Linked DNA regions of Homo sapiens: all the other regions are linked to region 1. The links are contacts of gene promoters, found by promoter capture Hi-C in blood cells and fetal thymus (Javierre and others, 2016). All regions are on one chromosome and are shown on one strand. The core of a region is centred on a gene start or on the middle of the fragment in contact, and the rest is flanking DNA. Distances in the headings are between cores, read along the strand shown.

The links. Contacts are between HindIII fragments. The CHiCAGO score rates a contact against its expected background, and 5 or more counts as called.
Region 2: a contact is called between a fragment that was not itself captured here and the fragment with the promoter of PLN in region 1, in 1 of 17 cell types (endothelial precursors). The highest score is 5.1, in endothelial precursors.
Region 3: a fragment that was not itself captured here is called in contact with the fragment with the promoter of PLN in region 1 in 3 of 17 cell types (activated CD4 T cells, naive B cells and total B cells); the score reaches 8.4 in activated CD4 T cells.
Region 4: a contact is called between a fragment that was not itself captured here and the fragment with the promoter of PLN in region 1, in 1 of 17 cell types (activated CD4 T cells). The highest score is 5.1, in activated CD4 T cells.

The regions. Positions count from the first base shown.
Region 1 is chr6:118,546,966-118,549,665 of GRCh38, reverse strand. PLN (phospholamban) reads right to left here and starts at 1,370. Exons shown (of 2, transcript NM_002667.5): 1 at 1,274-1,370. All of the region lies in intron 3 of CEP85L (centrosomal protein 85L), which reads left to right. The HindIII fragment of the contact is 6,726 bases long and covers 1-1,614 here.
Region 2 is chr6:118,327,601-118,330,300 of GRCh38, reverse strand. No RefSeq gene overlaps it. Among named protein-coding and RNA genes, the nearest start is that of PLN, 220 kb to the left of the region's middle. The HindIII fragment of the contact is 954 bases long and covers 853-1,806 here.
Region 3 is chr6:118,790,901-118,793,600 of GRCh38, reverse strand. No RefSeq gene overlaps it. Among named protein-coding and RNA genes, the nearest start is that of ASF1A, 100 kb to the left of the region's middle. The HindIII fragment of the contact is 1,386 bases long and covers 752-2,137 here.
Region 4 is chr6:118,765,708-118,768,407 of GRCh38, reverse strand. No RefSeq gene overlaps it. Among named protein-coding and RNA genes, the nearest start is that of CEP85L, 120 kb to the right of the region's middle. The HindIII fragment of the contact is 833 bases long and covers 913-1,745 here.

The DNA of each region.
Region 1 (2,700 bases), core at 121-2,620:
AAAAATATGAGTATAGAGATATGGAGACACAATTAGGATACCTCAGTGGTAGACAAAAATTATGTTTTTTTATGTCTTAAGGAAAGCTGCTTACAGAGTTACAAAGTTCTTATTTGTAGTGAGCAATAGAATTAACATTTGTCATAGGAATTGAGAATTTTAGAGATAAATTTTATTTTAACATATATATGAAATATGAAAATCAAAATAAATAAAATATATGTAATTTTCTGTATGCCCTGACAGAGATCTAAGAATGAGGAAACGTTTCATTTACTAAATTGAGGATTGTAACATAAAGAATAGGGTAGAATTCAAACAGAAGTCATAAAATTGATTGTGGCATCTCCATTCCTGGCATTTATTTTATTTTTTCCTTTCTTTCTAAATCCGAGAGAGGAAATGGAGTACCACTGGAGGATAATAACTTGACAAAACTATAGGCATTAATAGGCAGAAATCCATTTAATCAAATTTGTGTGAAAATAAGATAGTTAAGAATATTCGTGTGTCAAAATAACTTTTTAAAGTATCAAATTATTCTCTAACGTCAGATTTTTTGTGTTTGTGAACATTGTTTTAAAATTTCTAAACTTCTTTATGATACAATATTGAATTTAATATCAGTAACTCAATTTATTAATAGCATGGAATTTTTTTAGAAATGTTTGTTAAAAGTTGACTGGACTTTAGAGGGGAAACATCCTCAAGGGCACTTTAAAAGTAGCTTGTATTATATATTCTGAAACTCCATTTCATTATTCACTGTATGAAATTATGATAATATTGGAATAGGCATGCTGATAATGTGCATGTTGTAGTCAAATGACTATTCATATTAGTTCAGATGTAAATAGCTCAGTTCTGCACTGTTTCTCAGCAGAGCAATAAATAACAAAATTAAGTCATTGTTTTTGCATGGAGAAATTAACCACTACTACCAAATATGGTAACATAATTGGAAGATTTTTTAATTGGCAGAAATTCACATTTGAAAAGCAAAATAAAAGTGAAAGATAAATTTAAATGACAAACCAGTAACCAGGATCAAAGATGAATATGACCTTTTTCATTTCAAAGTTGTCTCATTTTTCCTGTCACTAAATGGATAAGCATTTATAAATTTAAGCACTTTGTCATGTCATTTTATTGCCTAAGATTGAACTGATATTCATAAAATTAACTCATTTTAAAAGTTCAGATTATAGAAATTATAGGAATTAAGAATTATAGAAAGTAAGAATTACCAAAGTCAGCGAAATCTGTTTCTTACCTTGGCAGCTGTGATCATCACAGTATAGAGTATTGTGTTGTATGAAGTCTTACGGGTGTTTAGCTGGGGAGTTTTCTGACTCTGTCACCCAGTTTATGGGAACAGTTGCAGTAGGTGGAGGAGAAAAAGTGTTCTAGGGAGGTCTTATGATGTCACATAGGAATTCTGAAGTTTCGATTGGTTAGCCACAGTCTCAGTCTTATCACAACCAAACTTTAGAACTTCTTACTTTAGGTATGGAAAAGTCATTAACACTTTGTGCTTCATCTTTTGTTTTTAATTTAAAACAGTATATGGTAGATAAATGAAAAAAATAAGTAAACTTGAGGTGGTGGAAAGCTTTTGTTAAAGATTCATGCATCTTCAGGCTTAGAGATAATTGAATATTAATGGTGAAGATGTTGAAGAGCTAAAATAGTTACTGCAGGAATTTTAATTATGAGAAAAATAAACACAGGTATAAGCAAAACAACTTTCATTGAATTCTTGCTGCTGTTGCTTTAATACGTGTCTTCATAATGTTAGCTTTTAGTGAAAGTGAAATATTTTTACACAATAAAATTTTATACCTGTTTTCTTATTTTGTTCTTGTTCTTGTGTGTATGGGAGAAGGAGTATGAGAAAATCAGGCTAATTGCTTTTTGTTTTAAAAAATTATTTTTATCTTACAGTTAAAGAACTAATAAATGTATTTAATTCATTTGTGTTTTCTTCAATTAGCAGTTTAACAATATATTTGTGAATAGTAATACTTATATTTAAACTGATACATACAACACCCCCAAAATAGCAATATGCTACTTTAAGTATTTAAGATTTTTTAAAAACAATTGCATTAAATTATTACACAATCTTACCAAATTTTTAATAAACTGATGCAGTATTAAGGGCAACTTTATGGCAAAAAAGAAATAATTACAGATTCCAAATCAGTTACATCTCAGTTAATGAGGCTTTATAGGTTTGATGTGTTGAAATTTAAGTTTTGTAATGTTTTTGAAAGGATGTGCCTCATTTAATCTAGCAGTTGCTTTCCTGAAAATTACTATAAAAATGAGATGCTAGTAAGTGAGATGATATTTTGAACTTCCTAGAACAGTTTATCTTACAGTAGAACTGGGGAAATAATTTTTTTGTAAAGCCGGGCATCATTCTCCTCTTCTCTGTTTATCTAATTTGTTGTCTTAGATGTTAGATTTACTTAAGTCACCACACTCGAAAATATTAATTCTTAAATCTCTTCTTTAATTTTAGAGGAGGTACTTGTAATTTTTAATTTTTTAAATGCTTATGACAGAGTGAACTTAGCCCACTTCACTTTCTTATGGGTAACTAAAATGTGTAGCAGCAGCTGCTTACATGCCCTTAAATGGAAATGATCTTGGCTTCTTCCAAAGAAAGAAAATCCATCTCTAGAGCAAATCATT
Region 2 (2,700 bases), core at 80-2,579, 220 kb after region 1:
CTAGACTGGCCTAGCCTCCCAGCCTACCTCTTTCTTCCATGCTGGATGCTTCCTAACCTTGAACATCAGACTCCAAGTTCTTCAGCTTTGGGACTTGGATTGGCTTCCTTGTTCCTCAGTTTGCAGATGGCCTATTGTGGGACCTTGTGATTGTGTGAGTTAATACTTAATAAACTTATATATATATATACAGATCCTATATATATATACACATCCTATATATATATATACATCCTATATATATATATACACACATCATATATATATATACACATCCTATATATATATATATATATCCTATCAGCTCTGTCCCTCTAGAGAACCCTGACTAATACAGTGGGGCTAACACTCATGAGTCACAAAAGAAATGAAAATGCTTCTTAAAATTTGTGTTTAAGAATTTTTATTAACTCTTTTACAGAACCTTATTTTTCAATATGAAAGTGTGTTTATTTTATATGATAGTTAAGCTAACAAACCCTCAACTATTCTTCATCAATAGTGCTGGAAAGTTTATATTATTAGGAAATCCTGTCTCTTTGGTTTTTTGTTTTGTTTGTTTGTTTGTTTTTTTAAGACTTCATCACTTAGGGAAAAGATTCAATCCCAACTTAGTGAATTGCACGCCTACTATGGCAGGACTGTAATAACTGAAGCTTTATCATGAAAGAACATCCACGCTTCAACCACGAAAGAACATAATGCTTCAGACATTATTGTTTCTAGAATGTACATTGTGCTGCATTCAAGAGAATCTAGAAATATCTATTCAATAAGAATATTTTATATCATGTTCAGGCAGCTTCCTTATTAATGTTTGCATTCATTTTATTTAAAAATAAGTTGCAAGCTTGATTTCAAGGGTTATTTCACTTTTAAGTAAGTATAGAGTCCATTGTCCAGGCCCAAGATGAATTGTTTTCTGATTTTCCTTTTTATCAGAATTTGATGTTCTGGCTGAGTAATTTCTTTAAGAGATAGTCTTCATCAACAGTATCATCTTACTTCATATTTTTCACATAGAAATATTTTCTTCTTCTCTATAGATTGTTCTCTGTGCCCAGATTTCAGTAAATGGCCATGGGTTTATTGGTTAAAAGTTAGTCATTCACCTCCCTATATTATGAAGGGGGTAAATAATTTTTAAAATAATCTGTTTTTGTTTTTTTTAAAAAAATGCTTCCTAGTGATTATGTGCCAGGTTTTGTCTTTCAAAGACATTTAAGGTGGTACCAGGAGCATAAATGCGGTCAAAATTCTACCTCTGAGTCAGAAACTTTCCAATGAATCCCTTTTTCCTTAATATAGTTAGAATTGTTTCTGTTGCTTCAGACAAAAACAACTGTCTCATGTTCCTTCCAGTCTTACAGAGTTTATACTCTAGTGGAGAATATGGATAATTAAACAAGTATAATAAGATACACTGTGTGTTCAATTTTGAAGCCCACAGTTTCTCTTCCACAGAAATTTACATTCTTTTCTCTAAAGACAGAGAGAGGCAAAATCTGCAGTGCCAGAAAACCTTAAGGCAGACTTCAAGACTGTCCGCACATCCTGAGACTCAGTGTAGAAACCATGGATCAGGTCCAAAGTCCCATCTGATTCTTGGTTTCTATCAGCTTCCTTCCTGCATGTTCCACCACCTGAGACAGGCCACCCCATACTGGGGTCAGCTGTGACTTTTAGGAAGTCCTTCTTTATGTTGAGCTGAAATTTGTCTTCCTGAACTTCCTGTTCTTGGTTCTAGTTTTAACCTTTGTAGACTGAACAAGTCTAACATGTCTTCCTTTTTCATTCAACAAAGCTTGCTGGGTGTCTGCTCCAGGTCAGACACTGTGCCAGATTGTGCCTAATGGGCTGCATTTTCCACAGGGTTGGGAGGGAGGATACTGACATTAGCCAGTCTATATATAGATACATATATATATTTTTTTTTTCTAGACGGAGTCTTGCTCTGTCACCTAGGCTGGAGTGCAGTGGTGCGATCTCGGCTCACTGCAACCTCTGCGTCCTGAGTTCAAGCAATTCTCCTGCCTCAGCCTCCCGAGTAGCTGGGATTATAGGTGCCTGCCACCACAGCTGGCTAATTTTTGTATTTTTAGTAGAGATGGCGTTTCACCATGTTGGCTAGGCTGGTCTCAAACTCCTGACCTCGTGATCTGCCCACCTCGGCCTCCCAAAGTGCTGCAATTTCAGGTGTGAGCTACCCTGGCCAGGCAGTCTTTAGAAGGGAAACAAGAGCTAAGAAGTCAGAAAGCCATGGAAGCATGCACCAGTGGACTAGACCTGCATCTCTCCTGGGAGCCAGGGAAGGTTTCTCTAATAAGTGATGTTTAACCTGAGCTCCCAAGGATGAGTGGGAATTATCTAGGCAAAAGGAGAGGAAGGGAGAGTCTTCCAGCAGGGGAGAAAACAAGTGCCATGGCCTTGGAGCAGGAAGAAGCAGGATGTGTTCAATGAACTAAAAGAAAGCCAATTTCACGGAGGTGCAAAAGCAAAGTAGAGAGACATGGGAGGTGAGGCTGGAGAACAAGGTGGTGATTCTGTCATGCTGGCCCTTGTGTGCCATGGTCAGGGCTTTTGAATGTCATTCATTTGTTCATTCGTGAATTCATCCACTCATTCAATTGATGTTTGTTGAGATCCCTTGACGTCCTGGGTACTCTTTCATGTGCTAGGGATAAAGGAGGGAACAAAAGA
Region 3 (2,700 bases), core at 195-2,694, 240 kb before region 1:
CTAGTATATACCAGTACAGAATAACGCTGGTCCAGAATTAGGTTTTCATTGTAAAAATAAAGGCAGGCATCTGAATTTGGAGAACCTGATCTTGGACCAGGTTTGCTCAGAAAGAACTAGGCCCACAATTGAAAGCTGCCTCTGGTTCAGATGGGGGAGAAGAGGTAGGGGTTGGCTGAGAAGGCTGGCAGGGTAGAGTCTCGACTGAAATCTGCCACGTATGGCCCACAATCCATTTCATGCCCTAACACAAGGGGTATTATAAGTTTTGAGTATAAAAGAAAATTATGGGCCGGGCGCAATGGCTCACACCTGTAATCCCAACACTTTGGGAGGCCGAGGCGGGCGGATTACCTGAGGTCAGGAGTTCAAGATCAGCCTGGGCAACATGGTGAAACCCTGTCTCTACTAAAAATACAAAATTAGCCGGGCTTGGTGACACATGCCTGTAATCCCAGCTACTTGGGAGGCTGAGGCAGGAGAATCGCTTGAAACTGGGAGGCAGAGGATGCGGTGAGCCGAGATCACGCCATTGCACTCCAGCCTGGGCAACAAGAGTAAATCTCTGTCTCACCAAAAAAGAAAAAAAGAAAATTGTGATTATAAAATACAATTTTAAAATAGACATCTCAATTCACCTCACCACACATATAAAGATACGTTTTACATTTTTATGGCGTGTCAACACACTATTCACTTCCCTTATGAGGGGAATGCATAAGCACCCTTTAAGCATTTTAAGGGAAAAGCTTGAAATTATTGTAATAAACAGAGGGCTTTCGTGTAAAAAGCATTTATTTGATCTTCACAAAAGCTCCCTGCAGAAGGTATCATTATGAACCCATTTTAAAGAAAGGGGAACCGAAGGGCAGAAAAGAAAACTTGCCCAAGATTACATAGGTGAGAAGCGGGTTAGGGTCTGACACATATGATCTGACTCCAGAGAAGGTGCCCCTAACGATGCATTCCATTGTCTCTCCTTGGAAATCTCACCTCCTCTTCATCATTATGCAATGAATTTTGTCCCCCTGCTATAGTTGGGATGTTTGTCCCACCCAGATCTCATGTTGGATTGTAATCCCCAGTGTTGGAGGTGGGGCCTGGTGGAAGGTGTTTGGGTCATGGGGGCAGATTCCTTGTGGCTTGGTGCTGTCCCCACGATGGTGAGTTATCATGAGATCTGATTGTTGAAAAGCGTGTGGCTCCTCCCTCCCCTTGCTCTCCCCATGTGGCATGCTGCTTCACCTCTGCCATGAATGAAAGCTCCCTGAGGCTTCCCCAGAAGCCAAGCAGATGCCTGTGCCATGCTTCCTAAACAGCCCGCAGAACTGTGAGCCAATTAACTCTCTTTTCTTTATAAATTACCCAGCCTCATGTATTCCTTTATAGCAATGCAAGAATGGTCTAACAACTCCCTCCTTCCCCGCCACTTCCCTAAATTAATACATTGAAGTCCTAACCCCCAGTACCTCAGAATGTGACTGCATTTGGAGATAGGGTCTTTACAGAGGAATTAAAGTGAGGTCATTAGGGTGGGCCCTGATCTAATATGACTGGTGTCTTTATGAGAATAGGAGATTTGGCACAGACACCTACAGAGGAAAGACTATGTGGTATGGTTTGGCTGTGTCCCCACCCAAATCTCACCTTGAACTGTAGCTCCCACAATTCCCATGTGATGTGGGATGGACCCAGTGGGAGGTAATTGAATCATGGGGGCGGTCTTTCCTGTGCTGTTCTCTTGATGGTGAATAAGTCTTATGAGATGTGATGGTTTTATAAAGAGGAGCTCCCCTGCACAAGTTCTCTGTTCCCTGCTGCCAAGTAAGATGTAACTTGCTCCTCCTTGCCCTCTGCCGTGATTGTGAGGCCTCCCCAGCAATGTGAAACTGTGAGTCAATTAAACCTCTTTCCTTTATAATCACCCAGTCTTGGGTATGTCTTTATTAGGCATGTGAGAACAGACTAATACACAATGCGAAGACACAGGAAGAAGACAGCAATTGTAAGCCAAGGCGAGGGGCCTAGAGCAGCTCTTTCCCTCGCAGCCCTCAAAAGGAGTGATCCCTGCCAACACCTTGATCTCAGACTTCTAGCGTCCCAGCCCGTGAGAAAATGAATTTCTGGAGGTGAAGCTTCCCAGGCTGTAGTACTTTATTATGGCAGGCCTAGAAAACGAATTCATTCACAGACCCCCAGTTAAGAAGAAGCAGGAGGAGGAGGCAAAAAACAAATTACTCTTTTAAGTGAATTCATCTCATGTTAAAATATAAAATATGTGAGAATGTGTGCATTTCATTAGATATGGGGAGCTTAATTGAATCATCTTTTAAAAGAAATAATCGGAATTTAGTTCTATAATAAGAGTAAAATCAAGAAAGCAGGAAAAGTCTGAATTTATATTGATGTAGTACCCTTGAAGTAGTATCATAGACCGGAAACAGCAGCTTCATTAAGGCCAAAGTGTGTTTGTTAATTAGCTGTGGTCCTCTCCAGTGAGCCGACCAATAGATGCCATCAATGATGAGAGAGCATGGACTTATTGACGAAAAGATGAAGTCAGTTGGGCATTAGACACACATGTTTCCTCCGAGGGCGGCAGTACTTTCATTAATAATGAATTCTGTCTTTCCTTATGTCTTCTGAGCTTCCCACTAATGCTGGAATTATTAGTGTGAAACATGAGGCCTTCCGGTAATT
Region 4 (2,700 bases), core at 80-2,579, 220 kb before region 1:
CTGTCTCTAACAAAAAATGAAAACTTAGCTGGGCATGCTGGCACATGCCTGTAGTCCCTGCTACTGAGGAGGCTGAGGTGGAAGAATCACTTGAGCCTGGGAGTTTGAGGCTGCTATGCTGTGAGCTGTGGTCATGCCACTGCACTCCAGCCTGGGTGACAGAGTGAGATCATGTATCAAGGAAAAAAAAGAAAGAAAAGAAAGTTGAACGCTCAGACTCACTAGAGACCACACAGGCATTGGGATAAGTCAGCACCCAAAGTTATGCAACTAGATACAAGAGGGAGTCTCGTCACAGCAGTTATGTGCAATGGGGAGTGCGGGGGCAGAGAGGGGCTGTAGATGGGACGGCAACAAAGAGCCCCTTCACTCTAGCTGTAGGGCCAGAGGGCTTTGGAGCTGGAGGCGAATGCTCTGGATCTTAGGGTGACAGGGTGATCAAAGCCCTGTTCAGCAAGACGCCAGTGGGAATTGTGACATCTGATCCTTCCCACCGGAACCTACCTTTTTGTTTGGTTTCTGTACGTTATATTCCTTATCATCTCACTCAACCTCTTTGTTTGGCCTCCTTTATCTTTCTAGATTATCTCTCTTCACTCTAACTTCATCTGTTTTTCTCTGTAGATTCTCCCTCCTTAGAGCGTTCCCACCTTCTTTATTCACTATGTTCTGATGGCTCTGAAAACACCATCTCCAGCCCTGCCATGCACCTACGTTCTGATTCCTTAGCTTGAACAGCCTCCTGGACCATTCTTATGGATATTCCACTGTCACTTTATCAGGCCCACTGTGGACAATCAGCTCTCACAGCAGATGCTTATGGCGAGGGTGCCACAGTCGAACTGAAATATGGCATAACCTTCCGGTTCCTACCATCTTGATACAAGGGATGGTGTTTTTCAGGTCCAAGCTTTGAAGGTGTGTGGTCCTTTTAACTAGGAATACAATCAGTACACTAGAATCAGCCTTTCTAAGGGATGTTACCTGTCAAATAATTGCTAGATAGTTGGAGTTAAACACCATGGAAGAGGCTGAGCGGAGCTGCTAGTTCTGGGACCTCCGGGCCTGGGCAAGGTTATCTTCCCAGCAGCTCCAACCACTGGCAGGGGATGAGTACTTTATTTCTTTGATCCTCTGCTTCTTGAACTCTCAACTGAGAGCGTCTGCAGATTGGCCAGTTCTCATTTATCTAAAAATCTGCTGGCCCCCTTCTTGTTGGCCTAACATAGAGCTTTGGAATTGCTTGGTTGCCTTACTGAATGTGTTCACCTAGGATAGGATATTCCCAAGTGGGATCATACAGTGGTTGCCTAGTATTTCACCAAAATTCTCCTATTTAAAACATTTTACAATCTTTTGTAAAATGGGTTTTACACATTGAGGCACACATGAGGCACATCAGGAGGGCAAGTACTTTCTAAAGCATTTCATTCAACTACCTTGGTTCATGCCTGCTCCTAGTCCCATCCCCGTCATCGAGACAGGACACAGTCCTCCAGTCAGCTCAGTCTTTCATCACTGATTCTTGGCACAGAGAGGGTCTTATCGCTGGTTCCTTCAGATGCCACAAACGTCCTCTCTAGCCTCCTTTCCCCCTAACACTATCATTCTAGTCTAGCGCCTCACCCCATACCTGGGCTCTTTAGTAAGTTCCAATAATATGTGCGGAGTGCCTACCATGTACTATGTTGAACACAGAGGGAGGATGCAAACTGAGTCAGTTAGGACCCCAGAGCAGGGAAGCTTATCTAGACTTACAAATAACCAAGTAGATAAGGTGTGGGAGGCAGAACAATGGCCCCTAAAGGATGTCCACATCTTAGTTCCCAGAACCTGTGACTATGTTTCTTTGCATAGCAAAAGCAACTTTGCAGATGCAATTAAATCAAGGAATTTGAGATGATGAGATTTTTCCTGAATTATCTGCATGGGCCTAATATATTCACAAGGGTCTTTACAGAGGAAAGGCAGAAGGGCCCAAGTCAGAGAAGGAGATGTGATGACAGAGACAGAGGTCGACGTGATAAGGGGACATAAACCAAGGGATAGAGGCGGCCTCTAGAAACTAGAAAAGACAGAGAAACAGATTGTCCCTGAAGTCTTCACAAGGAACCAGACTGTTGCCCCATTGTGGACTTCTGACCTCCAGAACTATAACATAAATAGTGTTGATTTAAGCTACTGAATTTGTGGTAATTTGGTTGTTTTTTTGTTTTAAAATTTCAGCTTTAATTTTAGATATGGGGGGTACCAGTGTAGGACTGTTACATGGGGATATTGGACCCAGGTAATGAGCATAGCACCCAACAGTAGTTTTTCAATCCACGCCCCTCTCCCTCCCTCGTGCCTCTAATAGTCCACAGTGTCTATTGTTCCCATGTTTATGTCCATGTGTGCTCAATGTTTCACTCCCAGTTACAAGTGAGGACATGTAGTATTTGGTTTTCTGTTCCTATGTTAATTTGCTTAGGATAATGGCCTCCAGCTCCATCCACGTTCCTGCAAAGGACATCATTTCATTCTTTTTTCCATCTGCATAGTATTTCATGGTGTATATGTACCGCATTTTCTTTATCCAATCCACTATTGATGGGCACCTAGTTGATTCCATGCCTTTTTTATTGTGAATAGAACAGCAATGAATATACGAGTTCATGTGTCTTTTTGGTACAATGATCTATATTCCTTTGGGTATACACA